3 separate regions of the Homo sapiens genome follow, and all the other regions are linked to region 3. Evidence: promoter capture Hi-C in 16 types of primary human blood cells and fetal thymus (Javierre and others, 2016). All regions are on one chromosome and are shown on one strand. The core of a region is centred on a gene start or on the middle of the fragment in contact, and the rest is flanking DNA. Distances in the headings are between cores, read along the strand shown. Region 1 holds the start of TEX13B (testis expressed 13B). Region 2 holds the start of VSIG1 (V-set and immunoglobulin domain containing 1). Region 3 holds the start of MID2 (midline 2).

Evidence for each region. The method cuts DNA at HindIII sites, captures the fragments that hold promoters and counts their contacts. A CHiCAGO score of 5 or more calls a contact.
Region 1: the fragment with the promoter of TEX13B here is called in contact with the fragment with the promoter of MID2 in region 3 in 4 of 17 cell types (endothelial precursors, total CD4 T cells, naive CD8 T cells and 1 more); the score reaches 7.9 in endothelial precursors.
Region 2: a contact is called between the fragment with the promoter of VSIG1 here and the fragment with the promoter of MID2 in region 3, in 6 of 17 cell types (total CD8 T cells, activated CD4 T cells, total CD4 T cells and 3 more). The highest score is 7.1, in total CD8 T cells.

Annotation. Positions count from the first base shown.
Region 1 is chrX:107,980,996-107,984,125 of GRCh38, forward strand. It overlaps TEX13B (testis expressed 13B), which reads right to left and starts at 1,375. Exons shown (of 3, transcript NM_031273.2): 1 at 1,315-1,375; 2 at 674-1,164; 3 at 1-564. The coding sequence starts at 1,132. The coding sequence ends at 85. It also overlaps the pseudogene LOC112267910 and the pseudogene NLRP3P1. The HindIII fragment of the contact is 6,409 bases long and covers 1-3,130 here.
Region 2 is chrX:108,043,365-108,046,332 of GRCh38, forward strand. It overlaps VSIG1 (V-set and immunoglobulin domain containing 1), which reads left to right and starts at 1,701. Exons shown (of 7, transcript NM_182607.5): 1 at 1,701-1,815. The coding sequence starts at 1,767. The HindIII fragment of the contact is 8,448 bases long and covers 1-2,968 here.
Region 3 is chrX:107,824,347-107,827,479 of GRCh38, forward strand. It overlaps MID2 (midline 2), which reads left to right and starts at 1,520. Exons shown (of 10, transcript NM_012216.4): 1 at 1,520-2,084. The coding sequence starts at 2,081. RefSeq lists silencers at 1,938-2,127, 2,288-2,337. The HindIII fragment of the contact is 8,930 bases long and covers 1-3,133 here.

The DNA.
Region 1 (3,130 bases), core at 125-2,624, 160 kb after region 3:
TGATGGAGTTCGGAGTCTCTCCTGTCTCTTGGGGGCTCTTGAGGGTCTATTCCCTGGGCCTCCACATCTGACCACAGGCTAGCATCAGAGGCCCCCCAGTTGAAAGGCATCTGAGTTGGAACCCGTTCTGTGACCTTTGCTGGTGAAGGGGGTATATTGGGTATGGCTGAGAAGGCGGACAAAGGGCATGGGTATGAGTATGTGAATGAGGTAGGGAGCTGGACAGGAAGAGGCTCCAGTGAGACTGTGGACCCAAGCCCAGAGAAGACAGACATGGCTGTTTGTACTGACCTGAGATCTTTCTCCCTCTGCCCCGCAAAGGTGTAATTTGCCTGCTACAATAGCTCCGAGGGGCTGCCTGAAGCCTCCTCCCAGCCCCTGCAAGACCTCTGCGGGGGCAGGCCCTGCCTCTGCATACCTCTCCTCTCCTTTTCCTCCAGCAGCACCAGCAGCAGCCACCGCCTCCTTTTCCTGCTCACCTGCTCCTTCTGTCCAATCCCCTCCGGCAGTGGCCAGGCCTGGAAACACTGTAGCCTGGCCCTGTCCCTGGGGAGGTGCCAGCTCCTGGAGAGAAGTAGGCAGAGCTGAAACACATTCTGGGGACAGGGCAGGGGGTCCGGACAGGTTGGGGCAGGGCAGAGGCATTGGACAGGGACCATTCGGGGGATCTTACGGCATGGAAGAGCTTCCATCTCAGCATGTCCCGCTCTCTCTGCACCTCCGCAAGGCTGGTCTCGGTTAGCTGCAACTGGAAGGTCGCCTCATTGCATTCCATCTCCTGCTGTTCCTTGAGTTCCGTCAGGTTTGAGGCCAAGACCAGCGCAGCTGATCTGTGCAGTTTGGCAAAGCCTTGCAGCCACTGCACCCTGCGGTTTTGTAACTGCCCCTGCCTGTGGGCAAAGCGCACACCCAAGGCCAGGCTGCCCCAGGTGCAGGCCTCTTTGACCTCGCTGGGCACCTCGCTGTCCTCCAGGATGGCCCTGAGCTTGTCTTCCACCTCCTCCCAGGATAAGGATATATTCTCGAAGTAGAACTCGGGGCCTTTCGTGTGCCTGGCCATTTTCTCGATGATGAAGGCCACCACGTTTCCGTGCCGGAACCCACTACTGGGGTCCTCAGGTCTCAAGGCCATGATCGCCTAGGGGCTTAACGGTTTCACTAGCCCTGTGTGGATGGAGCAGCCAATAGGTTTCTTTCCTCCTCCTTAGCCCCTCCCCTCATCTGTCTTCTCCGCCCTCCCACCTCTGACAAGACCCTCCTAATGACCCTCTGACCGGCTTGTCCTACCCTAGGACATCTCCCACCAGGCCTCACCTCTTCAGCCAGGGCCAGAGGAAGTACAGGCCAACCCCGCTGCTTAACACGCCTGAAGAGAGGGTGGCCTCTTTCCCTCCTAGGGCTCTGCGGGAAAAGAAGCCTCAGGGCCAACCCATGAGGATTTTACTCTGGGACTGTTCCAATTTCCAGAGACTGTAGGGGTGAAAGGGAGTGAGTGAGGAAGGCCTCTGCCATTCCACTGGGACAAAAGGGAACCTGCCACATGGTCGGGAGACCTTGAAGGCTGAAAGAAACAGGAGTGGTCCGGAAGGACTTAGGACCAAAAAAAGTATTTGTGAACAAGTTGAAGACTTATCCCTCCCCATCATAATGGTTTGTGCCATGCCAGGGGAGTTTCGCCCCCAACTGGAATATTCTAGAGCAGGAAACAGCCCCAACCCCTCAGTTGCCCTTGGAGGAAGAGGGTGGAGCCAGGAGCGGAGCTTATCCCCTGTTTGCTCAGGACTAAACATCCCAGACACCCTAACAAATCCTGGCCTGCCTTTCCTCCCTTAGCTCCTCTTTCCCCACACTCCTCCCATCACCCCTTCTCCCACTCCTCCCCTACTGAAACGCCTTGAATCTTGAAGCAACTGTGGGAGAAAGAGAGTTAGGAGTAGCATAAATACACCTTTTTACCAAAACATGAAATATCAGAGATCTTCCATCAGAGGGATATGAATATGTCTCTTAAAACCTTCGGCCGGGCGCGGTGGCTCATGCCTGTAATCCCAGTACTTTGGGAGACCGAGATGGGCGGATCACGAGGTCAGAAGATCGAGACCATCCTGGCTAACAGGGTGAAACCCCGTCTCTACTAAAATTACAAAAAATTAGCCAGATGTGGTGGCACGCGCATGTAGTCCCAGCTACTCGGGAGGCTGAGGCAGGAGAATCGCTTGAACCCACGAGGCGGAGGTTGCAGTGAGCCGAGATCGCACCACTGCACTGTAGCCTGGGTGACAGAGTGAGACTCTGTCTCAAACAAACAAACACAAAAACAAGAAAACCTTGAATGACTTTCTGAGACCCACAAGATAAATCAGACAAATCTCAGGTTGAGTCCAGCGTTGCTACGTATTACATGACATTGTACTGTAACTGAATCTGTTTCTACCTATGGATCTATGATGATGGCCAATGACAAAAGGGCATGTAAAGTTGTAGGAGTAATGTTTTCTATGATCCCGTATTTGTGTGTATGTGTGTGTTTGCATATGTTTGTATGTTTCTATAATCTTGGAGAACAGAATGAGAGAGGATATATAGCAGACTCAACATTAATTATCTCTGGGAAGTGGGGTTGGACTGGAGGTTAGAAAAAAAGTTTTTAACTTTAAAATACATTTTTCTCTAATTTCGCTTGTTACAAAGAGCATATAACTAACTATATGTATGCATACATCACAAATCTGGAAAGTTATATACTAACACTTTAACAGTGGTTATCTTTGGGTAATAGGAATACAGTACTTTAAAAAATATTCTTGACATTTTTCTCTATTGTAAAATTGTTTATAATAAACGTGTTATGTTTTTCAAAATTGAAAAAAAATGTTTCTCCCAGTAACAGCTGATCATTGTAAATAATTTTTAAGTGCTTGGAAAGTACTTCTATAATCCTACCCTTCCTTCAACCTGGGTGATAATCCCTCTTAATAGTTATATAGTCTTTTAGATAGGCCATAGCAAGTAATTTTTAGTTTTTCAAACGAAGCATCTTCTCTCTTCCTCTGTGGCCCTTGCACAGGCTCCTCTGTGCATGCACGGATTTCTCCTCATCCCCTCCTGCTCTCTCCACTCCCATTCTTTT
Region 2 (2,968 bases), core at 451-2,950, 220 kb after region 3:
CACGCTCATTTTAAAGTTGGGAACTGCCTGTATAAGACATGGTCCCTACCCTGGAGGGATTCACAGTGACTAGATTTAAGGTAGACCAGTTAATAAATGCGAAACTACTGGAGAATAATCAATGGTCAGCTGTAGGATATTGGCTTTAAGTAAAATGGAAATTTATGCTAGGGTGGTATGTCGGTTCATTGAAATTCTCACATAGGACAGTATGACTGATCTATGCTAAGAATATACTTGGCTAGTAAGAGGAGGAAGAAGAAAACTCTAGTGATGGAAATCACCTGGAGCCAACGTTTGGCATCAGACATGAGCATGGACAGGATAGGCTGCAAGGAGGAATCAGGCATGATGGAAGCAAAATGGCTTTCTAAGAAGCAGTGGGAGATTGGAATGGCTAAAGTAAGATGGGGTCAAACATTTCCTGTAAATTAAAGACAGGAACATAAAACATATCACTTGAAATTTGTACACATTTCATGTGACTGAACACTTTGAGGCAATAAATCTTGACATACTTTTTCAGGGGCATGAGTTAATGTGGCTAAAGTTCAGATGAGGTGAGGATCAGATATTGGAAGAATGGGAATCCATATTAAGGACTTTGGATTTGATGAAAGAGTCCATTTATGGTGTTACTGGAAATATTTCACTAGGGCTGGAACATTGGCCTGCGGCTGGCACACAGGATGAAGGTGGAATAAGTCAGGGAGACCACTTAGGAAGCTGCTATGATAGGCCAAAGTGGGAAGCTGAGTACCTGGACCAAGATGGAAGCAGCAGATTGGAGAAAGAACACATCTGAAAGTCGCTGTGGAGATGGAAATGATAGGACTTAGAAATCACATGGGAAGAGCCAGAGAAAGTCCTTAGGTTTCTCCGGGTAACTTAAGCATAATAGGAACACTATTAGAAGTTCATGTTCCCATGAAAGTTCCTTACCTGTGGAGCCTCCCATGCCCTCCTGGTGAACCTCCATTTCTAAGGAAACCCTATAGCATTTACTGAGTATCTTAATTCTCCAAAAAATCAGACTTCTCCAAAGAAAGTCTTTAAGCATGTATTCACTAACTTGATTTTGCAAAATTACGTTAGCAAATACGTGCTATAAGGTTTCTAACCCGACAGACAAAAGCATGTAAATCATTTTACTGCTAGTTTTGGTGGAGGGTAGTGACAACTGCCAGTGTTTCAAAAAAGAGTAACATATCCAGAGTTTGTTCACACAGAAATGAATGCTTTTTAGCTTCATAACCCCTGTGCCCTTCCCGTGAGCCCCATCTCCCCAGGAAACGATATAGTACCAATTTACTAACTTAATTTGTAAAAGGAGGTTAGTGAATCAATTCTGTAAGACTCATGGAAATATTTGAAATTAATTAGCCTTGTCAGCTTTTATTTGCATAGGCTCTCTTCCAACCATATCCCCCAGCCCAAGTACAACGTTTTAGTAAGATTGATTTTAAACAATGAGACTTAGAGAATCTGTGTACAAGGAGCTTGAATAATTTAAATGCGTGGGTTTATTATTAACACAGTAGCAAATATATCAAGGAAACACGCCCCATGAAAAGTGTTTCAAAGAAACACAAATCTGTACTGAAAAAAGTCTATACGCAATAAGTAAGCCCAAAGAGGCATGTTTGCTTGGCGATGCCCAGCAGATAAGCCAGGCAAACCTCGGTGTGATCGAAGAAGCCAATTTGAGACTCAGCCTAGTCCAGGCAAGCTACTGGCACCTGCTGCTCTCAACTAACCTCCACACAATGGTGTTCGCATTTTGGAAGGTCTTTCTGATCCTAAGCTGCCTTGCAGGTAAGGAAAGGATCTCCAAACCACCAAATATAATTGGAAACAGAGTTTCCTTTTAAATAAAAATTCCACATTTTTACATAGAATTTTCATCTCCTGTACTTCAAATGAATTGTGATTAGTATGATGAGTTAATTTTCAGAACTCTTGCTTAGCAAACATATGCCATGCTGATATATTAGGGGTGTAAGCCCATAATATTATTGTTTTATGGAGCTTCTGAATGAAAATTTTCTCAGAAAAAAATATAGTTTATTACTTTACTTACTTTGAAAAGTGAAAAAAATGAATTTACTCAGAAACCAAACTTTGTGCTAGGGATAATTTTGTCTCTGTTTTACTTACTTTAGTGTTTCCTTTAAGCTCAGTGATTGACTTGCTCTAGCAGGCAGAGCCTGGGTTGGAGGGCCTGCCCTGGCTTACATATGGGAAGAACAGAAATTTACTGAGTACTTTACTGTCTAATATTTCTTAAGGAGTTGTGGTTTTCCAATCCTAAGACTGTATTTTGCAAAATATGTGAGTGATTTATGGTGCACAACATGGGTGATTTTAGGTATCTGAACAGAAGAAAATCAATTTTGGAATCAAAATACTGATGTTAGTTAGATCCAGGAGAGATCATTAATTCCAAAAATCCCTTGGGTAGTTTTCAAATATCAGATACATTTTGCATCTGTTCTTATAAGTTAGGTCCATAGTAAATACAATAATATTGTTTATCCAAAAACAGGATTTTCAAGCCATTAGTAATATTAGGCAGTGGTTAGAATGAGGTTTACTAGGCGTATTAATGACATAAGAAAATACCCACGATAAAATATTAAGTGAAAAAGCAGGATGCACACATATGCCTAGAATAAATTACTAGAAGGTTATATACCGAAGTGCTCATGGTGGTTGCCTCTGGGTGATGGGATTATAGATGATTTTAATTTTATTTCCCAGCTTTTCATACTTCCTGGGTTTTCTACGAAGAACATTATGCTATTTTTATAATTAGAAAAAAGTGTTACTTTTCAAAGTGATCTCATGTTTAGAAATAGTTCTTTAAATGTTCATTACTAAATGTTTAAGCATAGATGTTTTATGGAGTTAAACATCACCAGAAGGCAATACTCCATTTGTCCAGTGACCTAACTAGGCCCTAGAGCTG
Region 3 (3,133 bases), core at 270-2,769:
CCACACCTTGCCGTATTTTCCTGTGTGTTTGTTTTGTGTGTGTGTGTGTGTGTGTGTGTGTGTGTGTGTGACCATCCTAATGGATGTGAAGTGATATTTCATTGGGGTTTGATTTGCATTTCCCTAACAATTAGTGATGTGGATCATCTTTGCATATGCCTGTTGGCCACTTGTATATCTTCGTTGGAGAAATGTCTATTCAAGTCTTTTGTCCACTTTTAAGAGTTTTTTTTTTAATTGAGCTATAGAAGTTCTTTATACATTCTGGATATTAGCACATTATCCGATATATGGTTTGCAAATATTTTCTATCATTTTGTAGGTTGCTTTTTCACTCTGTTGATTGTGTCCTTTCCTGTGCAGATGTTTGAAAGTTTTATGGTCCCATTTACCTATTTTTGCTTTTGTTGCCTGTGCTTTAAGTGTGACTCACTAACTTTTACTTCTCTTAGGGGCCAGACTTTCATCAGGAGAGCCTGGTTGTGACTTTTGTCTTGGTTTCCACCTCAGTGCTCTCTAGCACATTGTTTAACAGGAGTGTTGACTGATTACTATTGGTTCCCTGAAGGGATATACCAAGAGATACCTCAATTTTTCTGGACTTGTTCCTATGCACAATGATGGGAGGCGTGTGTGTGTGTGTGCTGGGGTGAGTCTTCCCATTTTCTCATTTCTTTCCCCTTCTTCTCCCTTTTTGCCCCAAGTTAGAAACAGAGTCTCTTATGGGGCTTCCTGCTCTTTCCCTCTCCCATCCACCTTTTGAGTCGGGTGGTGGTCTCTGAGCCAATGACAGGTCAGCAAACAGGCTGATTCCAGACCAATGGGAGGATGCTGGATTCCAAATGGACCAATTAGCTTATTAGGGACCTGGAATAGCTGGATAGCTAGCATCTGCCTCATTGTCCATGTGGTAACGACCCTCTTGTTTTACTGGTCAACAATTTGAAGGTACAAGAAAAATCCTACTTTTTTTTTTCTTTTGATGGTTTTAATCCACCTCCACAACTTCTGCCCGAGGCCAATAAAACACAGCCATTCTTTTTTTGTAAAAAGAAAGAGAGGTTCGGTTTCCTTCAATTGTCTGCCCTTTTCTATCTCCTCCACTATTTTTGTTTTACTCTGTAGTTAACTTTGCATAGAGCAGCTTCATAGGGAGGATCTCTGCGGTGGACCCGGCTCTCTCTTCTTATTACCCGTTGCAAAGGCCTCTTTCTTGTTCTAACCTGGGGGTTTGTGGGGTTGGGGGACAGGGGGATTGGGGAGTGGGAGAAGAGTTTAGCCATAGCCTTCCTTCTGCATTTCACACACATTTAGCTATCTCTGTCGCTCTGTCACACACACACACACGCACATACACACCATACACACACACACGCACACCCGTCCGGGTCCCTCTCGGTGTGTCTTCCTTCAAGATGACAGGGCGCTGGAGAAAAGGCTGCTGGAATCAGCTGGTAGGTACAGTAGTAACCCGAGCCCCACCCACCGGCTGCCTTTGCTTGCTCAGGTTTCTCCGGTCACTCCTGCCAGGGGAGAAGACATGTAAACGTGCCTCCAGAGGAAGGGCTGGGGGAGCTGGGAGTGGCGGGGGCGGCGGAAGGTGAGCCTGGGAAGGTGGCCGAGCACCCCTTCTTCTTGGGCCCTTCCCAGTGCTCCCTTGGGGTGTCAGCCCCAGCCCCGTTTGCCCCCACTCCGCCTCCCTTTTGGAAGGGATTGCCTTTTTTTTCCTCTGCGGCGGCGGAAATGACAGTGTGGTGCTGCCGTGGTGTCATGGTGCTGCCCCTGGACTGAGGGGCGAAAACTCTTAAGTTTAGCTCGGGAGGCCCAGCTGCGGTAGCATCGCGGCCGCCGTGCTGTCCCCTGCGGGGCGCGCGGGCTGGCGGATCCCGGCTGCTGCGCGGCGTCGGCGACGGTAGCGGCAGCGGCGGCGAAGGCGGGCGGCGGCCTACAGTGGTAGCGGCGGCGGCGGCGACCGGGGCCCGGGAGCTCGCGCCGGAGCCCGAGCCAACCCGCTGCGGAGGCAGACGAGAGCCCAGCGCCCTCGAGCGAGCGGAGGAGATGGCTGGCACCTGGGAACGCTATGGGTAAAACGCGCCCCCTCGCCGCGGCCCTGGAGGTCGAGCGTCGTAGCCCTCGCAGGGCTAGTCTCCGGCTCCGGCCGCTTTTCAGGTGCCGCCGGGGCCCGGCGTTGGCCGAGGGCTCTCCGGCTCGGCGAGGCAGGGTGATGGGGCCCGCGAGGCTCGAAACGGCGACGGGGGCCCCAGCTCAGCTCCGGCTCTCAGTCATGCTGTTGGGGCCCGGGTTCCTGCCACTGCCCTCCTGGGACGGAGTTTGCACTCCGGGGTGCGGGGCGGGGGCGGCCGAGGCCTCTGCGCAGCCTGGCCGGGCCCGGCGCGGGCAGTCGAGCGAATCCCCCGGCGCCTGGGCGCGAGTCTGGGAAAGGGCACGGCCGCCTTCCCACGCTCCCGCAGCCGGCAGCCTCCTCGGCCCAGGCGTCGCCCCTTGGCCGGCCGTCTGCCGGGCGGTGCTGTCGCAGCAGCCGGCGTGGCTGCGGACGCCCTGCCGGCGGGGAGGCCCGGTGAAACTTAATCCCTTTTCTGCCAGGGAGCGATCCTCGAGTCTCCGTCTGGATGGTTCCTTATTTCTGGCCTAGCTGTGAAATCAGCTCTGTGGGGGAGAGGGAAAACTTACATATGTCCACAGGACAGACTGCGACGCAACCAGGGAGAGTGGGGATTTTCCATTCCTGCCTTGTAAGAATTAAGTAAATAACGGCGGAGTAGATTTACAGAAACATTACTGGTGATGATAAGGTTTAGGTTACTTAGCACTTCGTGTGTTGCACATTATTTTTCAGAGGTGTTTCTTCTTAGAGCAGGAAATTGAAATCCTGCAGTCGTTGTACTCTTTACTTTCTCTCTTCCACGGTCCCCTACCCGTTTTCAGGATCACTCACCTTCCTATGTCACAACGCTTACTTGCCTACCCAAATCCCCCAGCAGAGCCCCTTGGACCCCAGCCTTTCCCCATCAACGTGTGCACTCCCAGCCTCCCAGCCATGCAGCATCTTACTTCTCAACCACTTTGCCTTTTTGAGGATTTCTGAGTGTGGGGCGGATAGATGGTGATGGTT